Linked DNA regions of Homo sapiens: regions 1 and 3 are each linked to region 2. Evidence: promoter capture Hi-C in human tissues and cell types (Jung and others, 2019). All regions are on one chromosome and are shown on one strand. The core of a region is centred on a gene start or on the middle of the fragment in contact, and the rest is flanking DNA. Distances in the headings are between cores, read along the strand shown. Region 1 has its middle 62 kb from the start of LRRN2. Region 2 holds the start of LRRN2 (leucine rich repeat neuronal 2). Region 3 overlaps LOC105371695 (a long non-coding RNA gene).

Region 1 (3,832 bases), core at 714-3,213, 62 kb after region 2:
CTTCTCCAGTGCTGTTCTCCTAACCCTGAGGGCCTTGGTGACCTTGATCACCACCCCAACTATTGCTCTGAAGATGAAATAAGGTGGGCTGTGGACACATATTGGATCCTGTGATGGACCAACAGCTGATAACAGGCCAGCAGGACACCAGGAAGGTCTAAGGCAGAGGTGTCCAATCTTTTGACTTCCCTGGGCCACATTGGAAGAAGAAGAATTGTCTTGGGCTACACATAAAATACACCAACATTAACAATAGCTGATTAGCTAAAAAAAAATTGCAAAAAAAAAAACTCATTATGTTTTAAGAAAGTTTACAAATTTGACTTGGGCTGCATTCAAAGCCATCCGGGGTCACATGCGGCCTGCGGCCGTGGGTTTAAAAAGCTTAGTCTAAGGCTGGGGAAAAAGCACATTTTTGAGAAAATAAAAATCACAATTTTTTGTTTTTGAGACGGGTTTCACTCTGTCACCCAGGCTGGTGTGCAGTGACACAATCACGGCTCACTACAGACTCGACCTCGCTGGACTCAGGTGATCCTCCCACCTCAGCCTCCCAAGTAGCAAGGACTACAGGCGTGTGCCATCAGGCCTGGCTAATTTTTGTATTTTTTGTAGAGATGAAGTCTCACTATGTTGCCCAGGTTGGTCTCAAACTCCTGAGCTCAAGCCATCTGCCCACCTCAGCCTCCCAAAATGCTGGGATTACAGGCGTGAGCCACTGCACCTGGCTGAAAATCAGAAAATTTTGATCCACACTGGGGACAGGGAGTAACTGGTTGTTAACTGAGTGAACAACAAGGAGGATGGAGTGGTCTAGAGAGAAACTTAAGAGAAAGAGAGAGAGAGGCCATATGCAGTGGCTCATGACTGTAATCCCAGCCCTTTGGGATGCTGAAGTGGGCGAATCACCTGAGCCCAGGAGTTTGAGACTAGCCTGAGCAACATAGGGGGACCCTGTCTCTACAAAAACAAAAACAAACAAACAAACAAAAAATTAAAAATAGCCAGGCATGGTGGGGCACGCCTGTGGTCCCGGCTACTCAGGAGGCTGAGGCAGAAGGATTGCTTGAGCCTAGGAGATTGTGGTTACAGTGAGCTATGATCACGCCACTGCACTCCAGCCTGGGTGACAGAGCAAGACCCTCTTTCAAAACAAAAGACAAAAACAAAACAAAACCCAACCAACAAAACAAAACAAAAATAAAAAGAGGAGACAGTCTTTATGAGGGTGCTACAGAACAGCCCTGCTTTGAGGAAGGTAGGGCACATTTCAGGAGTCCCTTATGGTCTTTAGATTTCTAAATTTTCTATTTTTATCTAGTCTTCCCATCTTCCATTCACTGGTTCTCAACCTGGGTTTAAGGTACTGGCCCTGCCTAGGAGTGTTTGGAAATGCCTAGGAGAGTTGTGGCTGTCACAACTGGGCCTCTACTGCCATGTAGGGGGCAGGGCCAGGGATGCTAAGAAGCCTGAAGCTCTTGGTATTGCAGGTGGAAAAATTGCCTGTCCCAAAGACAAGATACAGATTGAGAAACACCAGTCCCTGCACTACCTCACCTAGCCTCTAGGGGTGCTCTTCTCCCCCTGCAGAGCTGGCCTGAGTTTGCCCTGACTCTGCCATCCCCTATCAGACTCAGCCTGATTTGGAGTTTTCAGATGGAAATTTCTAAAGAAACTTAAGAAGACAGATGGGAAATTATCAAAGAAAGCAACAAAGCATAAAAAAAGAGGAGCATCAACAGATTTCTGAGTCTAAGGAAGCTCAAGTCTATTTAGTCTAGTCATTTTTTTTTTTAACTCACAATTTTCCTGATTGAAACAATTTACTAGGTGCAGAGGCCTCATTTCTTTCCTTATGCTAAGGACACTACAGCCAGTCATAGCTCAGGCTGGCCCTGATACTGGCCTGGTAGAATGTTTAAGCTTTCTAGAGGCCAGGCTCTGGATCTTTTTCTTGGTGTGACCCAGAAAGACCATGGGCTCAAATCACTCCAGTCTCAAGCTGCTTTGGCCTTCTGGCCTCTCCTCAGTCTTTGACCCCTTGCACTAGCTCCACACATCAGGTCTTTCTGAGCAAGGTGTGGCCTTCTCTTTTGCCTTTAGAGTAAGTGTCAAGTAATGCTAGCAGCTGTGATGGAGTTCTCATCAACGCTCATGGTTCCAGACAAGAACAGTTGCTTTTTCACTCACTTACAGCCTAAAACCAATGGTACCAACTGGTGGCAGGTCTCCTCCAAGTGGTAATTCTGAACCCTAGGCTCTTTTCATCTGGTGGCTTCTCCATCTTCATTGTGTGGTTTCTCCACAAGGAGCCTGCAGAAGAGGAGAGGGGATGGAGGATTGCCTGCACGTGGTTTTCATGGGCCAAGCCTAAAATTACCACACATGACTTGTGCTCATATTCTACTGGCAGGAATGGAGACACATGCCCCCAACCTCCAGCTGCAGGAGATGCTGGGAAATGTAACCTAGCTGTGTGTTCAGGAAGATGAAGAATTGGGTTTTACAACCAGTCAGCAGTACATACCTCCACCTCCCATGAATGGGCTTCTAGAAGTCCTATTTTCCTTTTTCTCTACAATTTTTTGGCAGGTCTAAAGCAATGTCCTGGTTACGAATAAGTGGCTGGTTCCTCAAAAAGTTAAACATAGGATTATCACATAATCCTACAATCCTACTTCTAAGCTTATACACAAAAGAATTTAAAACAGTACTCAAACAAATACATGAACACACATGTTCATAGTAGCACTATTCACCCTAGCCAAATCCTTATCGATGCAATGAATGGATAAACAAACTGTGGTACAGATATACAATGGAATATTATTCAGCCATAGAAAGGAATTAAGTATTGATACATACTACAATGTGGATGATTATGCTAAGTGAAAGAAGCCAGACAAAAAGTCACATGTTGCATGGTTCCATTTGTATGAAATATCCAGAATAGTGAAACCCATACAGATGGAAAGAAGATTGGTGGTTGCCCAGAACTGTGGAGTAACTGCTTAATGGAGACCCTTTGGGGATGATGAAAATGTTCTGGAACTGGCTGAAGATGGTGGTTGCACAATGTTGTCAATGTATTAAATGACACTCAATTGTTCACTGAAAAATGGTTAATTTTATGTTATATAAATTTTACCTCATTTAAAAAAATGTTTAAATGATTCTAAAAGAAAGAACAAATGGATGGATTTTTTGCTTTGGTTTTGTTTTTAATGAAGCCTAGTTTTTACGTATTGTTTGTTGTTAATTTTTCTGGTCTGCATCACATAAGATGATTCTTAGCACTTGACCTGCTCCAGCAACTTAACTCCATCCTGTACGCCTTCTAAAGACATTGGAGAAGCAACTAATCTTTCCTTAACTCCATGGACTCTCTCCTTGGGTTTGGTTTCTGATCATATGAAATGCATTTCTGATACCTAGAATAATTATCTGTTAGAGTGTTCATTTGCTGAGCAATGACGATTGACATACCTGGGGCTTAATTATTTTTAAATTTAGCTCATAGTCTCACTTCCATCCACTTCTGGAGGCTCCTCAGCTTCTTTCCTCTCCTTCCTGCCCTCATCTGGTAGCTGCTCCCTTCCCCCACCTCTGGGTGCTGCTTAGGAGGTGGGGACCTATAACATTTTCAAGCCTTCCTCTCACCGGGTGCCAGTCTTTCCTGGGCTCATCAGTCTAGTCAAATATCCCCTAGTACTAAAAATAATTTTAAAAATCAATCTTATTCTACTTATGCTTCAAATAAAATAGCACTTAGCATGATGTTTTGTACTTCTTTTGATATAAGACATTTCATTCTTCTAGACTATAAGCTCTT
Region 2 (3,982 bases), core at 613-3,112:
AGTGGGTCAGGCCACCCACATGTGGCTTTTTCTGGTAGCCACAGGGCCCAAAGGCAAGGGGGCTCCAGTGCCCAGTGCAGAGCCCACCTCTACCCTCCATGCCCAGTGCTCTTTTTTGAAGGGATCTTTAAGAAGCAGTGGGCAATGGGAGGAGCTCCTGGCCTTCTTATTCAGGGACAAAACGCTGGGCCAGAGCCCATCCTAGACTGGCGGGAAAGGGGGGCACGGAGCCTGCCATCGGCCTGGGTGCATGGGGAGACCTACATCTTCCCCTATGACAGTGACCAAACTGGCAGGGAGTCACCTCTACTGCCCTGACCTAGGGAGGCTGTTCTCCTCACCACCCTAGGTCCTGGAGTTCTCAAGCAGAGGGCCTGTCAGTCCATCTCTGGCAACTGAGCGCTGTGCCCAGCCCACCCCCTCCAACCCTGCCAGTCGCCCAGTTAGAAGCTGCGTTGGCTCCAACAGATGGGAGCTGCGGCAGCCTGAGGAACAGAGCACAAAGCCCAGCTGACATTTTCCTTCCTGTTCGTTTGGGTGGGGGAGGAAGGGTAGGGAGCACAGTGCTACCCCCGGGGCCCCTCCCCAGGTTCCGGGTCTCCTGCACCTCTTTAGCTTCTCCGCTCGGCCCCAGATGGAGCTCAGTTCCCTCACCCCGCGGCTCCTCGCCGGCTGGGCAGCCAGAGCCTGCGCCACCCTTTGCCAGCAGGACAGACGGCCCACCTGTGGCTGGCCAGCCCATCCTGTCTCCTGGGTCCTGCGGTGGGCTCAGAGCCACCCTTCCGTTTCCGCTTCCCCCTGACCGAGTCCCCAGGCTGAGCCCCAGGCCGGCCCATCCCCCACCCCAAAGGTCCCATCCCAGGCTGCGGTCGGACCCCAGCCAGCCGGCCCGGGAGGAGCCTAGCTCCTGGTTCCAGATACTTCAGACAGACCCAAGGCCACCTTGTCCCTCCGCACAGACTCGCGAGCTCCAAGGAGGAGAAAGTCCCCAGGCTCTGGAGCGCTTCCAGCCTGCCAGTCCGCCCGTGTCACGCCCTCCCTAACCTCACTGCCACCTCTCGGCTCCTCCACATCTCCAGGGCCCCACTCTACCCAGCAACAGTTTGGGGGAGGTTCTGGCCTCTCCAGGCGAAGGCCCAGGCGCCCTCTCCCTGGCCGCTTCTGGGCATTCTCCAGCCCTCCGTCCCTCTGCCCCTCGGCCGCCTCCCTCTCCCAAGTCTCCGGCTCCCCCGCAGGCGTCTCGGCGGAAGGCAGCGGCCGGCCCTCCTCTGGCCCCCACCCGGGTCAGGCGGAGCTGCGGTGCCGGGGCAGGAGCCAGGAGCCCTGAGGCGGCTGCTCCGGCCGCTCCCGCCGCGTACGCCTCGGCCACGCCAGCGACCTCGGTGTCCACGATTCCCCGGCGGCGGCGGCGCTGCCCAGGTCAGCCCCGAAGCTGCACACTCACCCCGTGGGCGCCGGGCACCGTCTGCCGTCTGCTGCCCGCGCGGCCGCGCTCCGCTCGCCTTCCGCCCGGGGCCGGGCTGGGGACGCTGGTCCGCGCCCTCCCGCCGCGCGCGCCGTCTGCACAGGCCGGGGAGGCTCGGCGGGCGCCCTCCCCAACGTGGAGTTATCCTGGGAGCGGCTCCAGGGCCCAGCCGGTGAGGGCGATGGCAGAATCCCAATCCGTCCCCACCCCCTCTCCGCGCCCTGGGCGCGTCGCGGCCGGAGGCTGGCGGGCGAGAGCCAGGCGCTCCTTGAGAGCGCCGCGCGTTCGCAGGTGCCCGGAGCAGGCCCTCGCGGCGCCCGGCACCCCCTCCACGCGCGCCCCTCTTCCCGGCTTCGCGCTCGCCCTCCTCACTCGCTTCTCCGCCGCTCTCCCAACCTCCCCAGCCCACTCCGGTCGCCTCCTCCCAGTCTGCATGCCACGCCAACCCCCTCCAGTCCCGCTGCCATTTTAACTCCTGAGTGGCCAGAGGCCCCCTCTACCTAACGCACACACACCCGGGAGGAAGGAGTTGGGTGGGGCCAGACGCTAACGCTTGAGCTGTCCTTGTGCCTAGAGACACAAGGCTTGGCTGAGAGAAGGGGCACAGCCCTTGGGTCCGGGAAGAGAAGGGTTGGCTTCTCTCATACTGCCTCGGACCCTCTTGCAAAGGCCAGGAGACGAATGGGGAATTCAGCAGCTTTGTGAGGACAGGTGCAGCTCACAGTCACAGCATGCACCTAAGATCACATTTTTGCTTTGCATGGTGCTACCCTCCCGAAGTTAACAGTGGACTAAGGAATGTAGTGGGGTGGGTGAGAATTTGTCACTGGGCCCAGGCACCTCTCACCCTAAAGAATGGAGTGGAAGACCCCTTTAGTTGTCATGCTTTTCCAGCATTGCATCCTGAGCCGTGCAGCTCTAGCATTCTGGAAGATTCCGTCCTGGCTCTCAATGAAGGAGGTCAATTTCAGTCAGGAACTGGCAGGCCCAGTTAGGGGTTTGGCTTCAGGGTTCCCCACTCTGCCAGCTGGACATCATGAAGACTGGGGGAGGAAAGTAAGAAGGTGCCAAAGGTGGGTGCTAGGCTGCTGCCTGGTGGCTTAGAAAAGCTGGGTGACTGCCACTAGAGGAGGGCAAAGGCCCAATGCCCAACACCCATGCCTTGGTGGGGACTTCAGCCTGGACCACTCAGAACAGACATCACAAACTCGGCTCCATGGCAGGCCACACCCTACTGATGGGTCTGGACCAGAGCCTGCAGAACCAACAACAGGGGAATGGATGAGGTGGAGGCCAAGGTGTGGAGTCCTGTGAGGAGTGGCTTCCCTGGGCTGCCTGCCGTCATCCAGTGCTTGAGCTTCTGGCCCTGTCTTTTCCAAGGGTACAGCCAGTGGTGACTGCCATGCCTGGTGGCTTTTGTGAAGTTGGCTTGAAGGTCTGAGTTCTGTATGCACAGAGGGGATTCTCACCTTCATATATTGAATGAGCACATATTAAGTTCCCACTAAACCACCCCCATGTTCCCACTCTCCACCCCTGCTACGGAGCATAATGGCCTCAAGGAGCTCAGAGTGACAGGTTGGAACTATATGAAACCAATTTTAATATTTCAAGACGATGGAAGTGCCATAGAAATACAAAAAGAAACCACCTTAATGGACTAGCATTATTCACAAAAGGTTTAACGGAGGAGCTGAGTCTCCAACTGAGCCTAGTTGGAGGGATAGGATTTGAACTGGAAGAGAATATGGGGACCAGCAAAGGCAGGAAAGTGGAGACAAGCAGAGTAGAATGGGTTGTCTGGAGGGTAGGGGGCAAGGGAGGAAAATTATAGAGCTACTATTAGATGCCAGCCTTTTCTCATCTCTGTCATCTTAGACTCTGAGTTGACTAATATCCCCTTTTAACAGACCGGGGGATGGAGGCCCAGATCGTTTAAGGCAGTAGCCCAAAATCTGTAGGCAGAATGTGAGACCTCATTTTCACAGTGCGACAATGCCACATTGAGTATACAGGGTGGGAGCAGCTGATGAAGGGCCCGAATTGCCAGGCTCAGCAGTTTATCTGTGGACCCATCCTCAGGTGATTTGGGATGAAAGAGGCAGGAGGATGGGAGACTATTGAGGTAGCTGTTGCAGGAATCTAGGAGGAGGGGAGCAGTGAGAATAGAGTAAATGCATGGGCCTTTGTAAAGAAGACTTGGCAGAACTGTAAGACTGACTGATTGAAAGGGGTCAAAACTTGACTCCAAGCTTTTAGCCTGAGCATTTGAGTCCCTTGTCGAGTCACTGGAGCCACCTTTCCAGTCTAAGGGCCAATGTCAATGTAGACAGGATGATGGTGAAAAGGAGGACATTTTAGGAGTCCTTTACCAACTGCACGACCGGAGAGAGCACTCATGTCAGCACCCCAGCTTCCCAATAACTATGCATACTCAAGTGTCTTATCTCCTAACCAGAGGGTAAGCTTCTGGAGCCTATGACTGTCTTACACCTTAATAAGATAAGACCAGTCCTT
Region 3 (3,786 bases), core at 948-3,447, 43 kb after region 2:
CAGGTGCTTGGTGAGACAGTGTCACCGTTCTGGGAAGAGCTAGTCTGGGAGAAGGAGTCAGGATACTAGACCTGTCTGTGAGGCACTGGATGACTCCAGGTGAGTCATTCACCTTCCCCCCGACTCCAACCCTCCCAAATCTTGGTGTTCTCATCTTTATGGACCTAGGTTCTTTGACACCTCATTAATCTGAAGGTGGAACCAAAGAATGCACACCATAGAAATGGCTACATCAAAGACTTCATCCCCAAATACATCTCTTCTGGTTCAAAAGCTTCTTGGAACACAAGCAGACCTGACCCTCCTCCTCTTCTGCACCCCATGATGTCCACCCCCTGCCCTCTGTCATTCTTCACTCTCTACTCTACTTGCCTTCTCTCTCCCTTGTGAATCTCTTGTAAATGGAAGTCCTGGTCCCAGCAGCGTGCTGGTAAATGTTTAACAAACAGCTTTGAGACTGGGGGGAATGCCTGATTTGTAGGGCTTGCCAACTGCCAATTGTAAATACTCCTGCCATGACTAATTTCAAGATACCAAATATGACATCATTGAATGCAGAGCCAGGAAAAGAGTCACAGTAGCACACTGATGTATAGTATTTTCACCATACACATAGAACAGGAGTAAATGACCTCAAGAACACAGATAATATAGTCAAAGAATTAAGAATTGATAACATTAGAGTATTTATTGCCTTTGCTTTTAATATCACTTATTAAATTATAAGTTTATGTAATTTACTTTTCAATAATGGTGTGTTTAACAACTGGCTCATTAAATTCCTGAAAAATGCCTGGTCCTCCCCTTTGGATCTTTCCAGATGAGACTGTACATCCCCAAATTTGCGGGAGTACATAGTTGAGGCCCTTGCTGTGGGAAGCCTCTCAGGGAAAATAGGAGCATTTATTTCTGCATGCCATTTGTCTCCCTTTATTAACTTTAGTTTCTCTTCCTGTTATATAAGACATTCCTTGTAGATTCTCCTGCCTTTGTAAGGATGGTATTGAGAGAAATGAAATCAGGGCAGTAGTAACACCTTGCATCTTATGGAATCTTCCAGTTTACTAAACCCAAATCTCATTACTTCTCACAGCAATTCTGTGACGTGAGGTATGTGGAGCAGTTAAATTGCAGATGAACTATTTCACACCAGGTTGGCAAACTGTTTCTGTAAAGGGGTAGAGGCTGGGTGCAGTGGCTCACACCTGTAATCCCAGCACTTTGGGAGGCTGAAGCAGGAGGATCACTTGAGCCCAGGAGTTCGAGACCAGCCTGGACAATGTGGCGAAACCCCAACGCTACAAAAAATACAAAAATTAGCCAGGCATGGTGGTGCACTCCTGTAGTCCTAGCTACTTGGGAGGCTGAGGTGGGAGGATGGCTTGAGCCCAGGAGTTCGAGGCTGCAGTGAGCCAAGATTGCATCACTGCACTTCAGCCTGGGCGACAGAGTGAGATCTTGTCTCAAAAAACAGTTAAAATAAAATAAATAAACAAATAAAGGCATAGAGACTAAATATTTGAGGCTTTGCAGGCCATAAGGTCTCTGTTGCAACTACCTGGTTATTATTGATTGAGAGCTGCCACAGACAATACGTAAACAAATGAGTTTGGCCATTTTCCAATAAACTTTATTTATGGGCTCTGAAATTTGAATTATATATAATTTTACATCTCACAAAATGTTATTCTTCTCTTGATTTTTTCCAACCATTGAAAAATATTTTTAAAAAACCCATTAACTCACAGGCCATATAAAAACAAGCCCTAGGCGCCTTTCTCCCATGGGCTGTGTGGGGTCCCTGTTCTTCGCAGCTAAGGCTGGAGGCCAAGATCAGCCTTTGAGGACTGTCATCAGAATTGCCTTGCTTTCCTGCCTCAGATGTGAAAAATAAAAACAAGCCCTAGGCAGAATTTGGCCTATAGGCAACAAAAGAGGAAATTAAGCTTCAAAGAGAACAGTGACTTGTTCAAGTTCATCTAGATCGGCAGAGTTGGTCCTGGCATGGTTCCAAATCCCCTGAACTTTCCACTAAACCCACCTGCCACAAAAGGTGCCCCTCCTGCTCCTCAACACACCTTCTGGGACCTGCAGGTGGATTCTCCACTGGGGACCTTCTGTAACCCACTAAGTGCTTTTGGGCCACTTTCTCTTACTGCCCGTTTCTGTCTCTTTAAGTGTGGTGAGCCTTCCCATGCATCAAAGTAAAAAAGAAAAGGCGTTTGGACATGTATAGTCAGGCAATTTGCTCCCCCTCCATTAAAGCAGAAAATAAAGAGCTCACTGTCTTTATGACTGTTGATTTTATGATTCCGTCCTATTTTGTCACAGGTATCCTAAATTTCCACCAAGCAGGGACTACCTGTTTGTTATTCTGTGTCTTCAAATGTCTAGTCCAGCACTCTTCCTGCAGGACACTTGGGAAAGAACTCGGTGACTAATGATTAAGCTCCCCTCCAGCCTGGCATTGTATAACAAGAGATGGGTGTGACCCACCTGTGTGATTTATTTCCCCTCAATATGTTATTACGAAAAATGTAAAAATTCAGAAGAGTTTAAAGAATTGCACAGTGAACAACCATATGCCCACAATCTAGATTCTATAACTAACATTTTGCTATATTTGCTTTACCCCAAATCTGTTCATCTATCCATCCACCAGTCTTTTCTTATATTGTGGACACATTTCAAAGTTACAGACTTTGGTACACTTTAACCTCTAAATACTTCAATATCATATTGTTAATTAGAGTTCAATATTTGTTTATGCTGCTTCTTATTTATTTTTTGACCTGGTGGAAATGTGAAAGACTCTGGAGGCTGCCTCCAGAATATAGATCCCCACCCACTCCACTGACCCCTGAAGAATTTACTTGGGCATTTCTTTCCTTATAGCCTTTCCAAAGCTTTGACAATCCATGCAAATACCTTTGGTAGAGATCACTCATTAAGTCCACTCAGTGGTGGCTGGAATAGTGGCAACAGCCTTCAGTCAGGCCTGGGTTTGAATCCCTCTCCACTCTGTCACTCATACTTGTGTGCCCTTAGGCAAGTTTTTTTTTTTTTTAATTTCTCCAAGCCTCTTCACATGTAAAGTGTGGCTAATAATAACTGTCTTGTGATAGGAATAGTGAGGACTGCAAATTCAGAGCTACCTGTAAATGGCAGCGCAGTAGGATAATGAGAAGAGATATTAACTGTGTCCATTTTCCTGACTATGGATTTGTCACAAAAGAATGAGAGCTACTTCCAACTTCACCCCAACTCCATTCAGGGAAGACTGTCCTAGCTGCGTACTAGATTTAGGCTCTTCTCACGCGGGTGGAGTTAACAGCTTCTCCATGCTTCCACTGTAATTTAAAAAGACAAAACAAAACAAAGCCCACCTTACCATGCTGAGGAGGATTTGGCTCCACAAGAGAGGGGAGGGAGGCTGCTGCTGACCTGGAACTGGGGAGTGGGTTGAATCCTGTGGCAGAATGTGGGGGAGTGAGTGACGAGGCGGCGTGTGTGGGGGTGAAGACCTGCGCTCCATGCCCACACAGCCACCCAGGACACAACAGAACCCCTTCTGGGGTCTGGGGGATGATGGCCAAGTTAGCATGGAGGAGAATAGATTGTGAACAGCCCTGACCTCCTCGAAGGGACCCTATAGGTTCAGACAATGAGCAGAAGCCTTTCTCCAAGCTCTGCAAATTGAGTGACCACCCTGTTAAAGAAAAAAATTGGCCGGGTGCAGTGGCTCACGCCAGCACTTTGGAAGGCCGAGGTGGGCGGATCACGAGG

What was found. The method cuts DNA at HindIII sites, captures the fragments that hold promoters and counts their contacts. A contact is called where the count stands out against the background at its distance.
Region 1: a fragment that was not itself captured here is called in contact with the fragment with the promoter of LRRN2 in region 2 in 4 of the 25 tissues and cell types used here (H1 embryonic stem cells, heart left ventricle, liver and 1 more).
Region 3: a contact is called between a fragment that was not itself captured here and the fragment with the promoter of LRRN2 in region 2, in 2 of the 25 tissues and cell types used here (bladder and pancreas).

What each region holds. Positions count from the first base shown.
Region 1 is chr1:204,745,469-204,749,300 of GRCh38, forward strand. No RefSeq gene overlaps it. Among named protein-coding and RNA genes, the nearest start is that of LRRN2, 62 kb to the left of the region's middle. RefSeq lists a silencer at 1,544-1,633. The HindIII fragment of the contact is 5,126 bases long and covers 1-3,832 here.
Region 2 is chr1:204,683,876-204,687,857 of GRCh38, forward strand. It overlaps LRRN2 (leucine rich repeat neuronal 2), which reads right to left and starts at 1,863. Exons shown (of 2, transcript NM_201630.2): 1 at 1,445-1,863. The HindIII fragment of the contact is 8,916 bases long and covers 1-3,982 here.
Region 3 is chr1:204,726,220-204,730,005 of GRCh38, forward strand. The region is part of intron 1 of LOC105371695 (a long non-coding RNA gene); the gene reads right to left. It overlaps LOC105371694 (a long non-coding RNA gene), which reads left to right. Exons shown (of 3, transcript XR_922458.4): 1 at 1-99. It also overlaps the pseudogene LOC124900453. Among named protein-coding and RNA genes, the nearest start is that of LRRN2, 42 kb to the left of the region's middle. The HindIII fragment of the contact is 5,503 bases long and covers 1-3,786 here.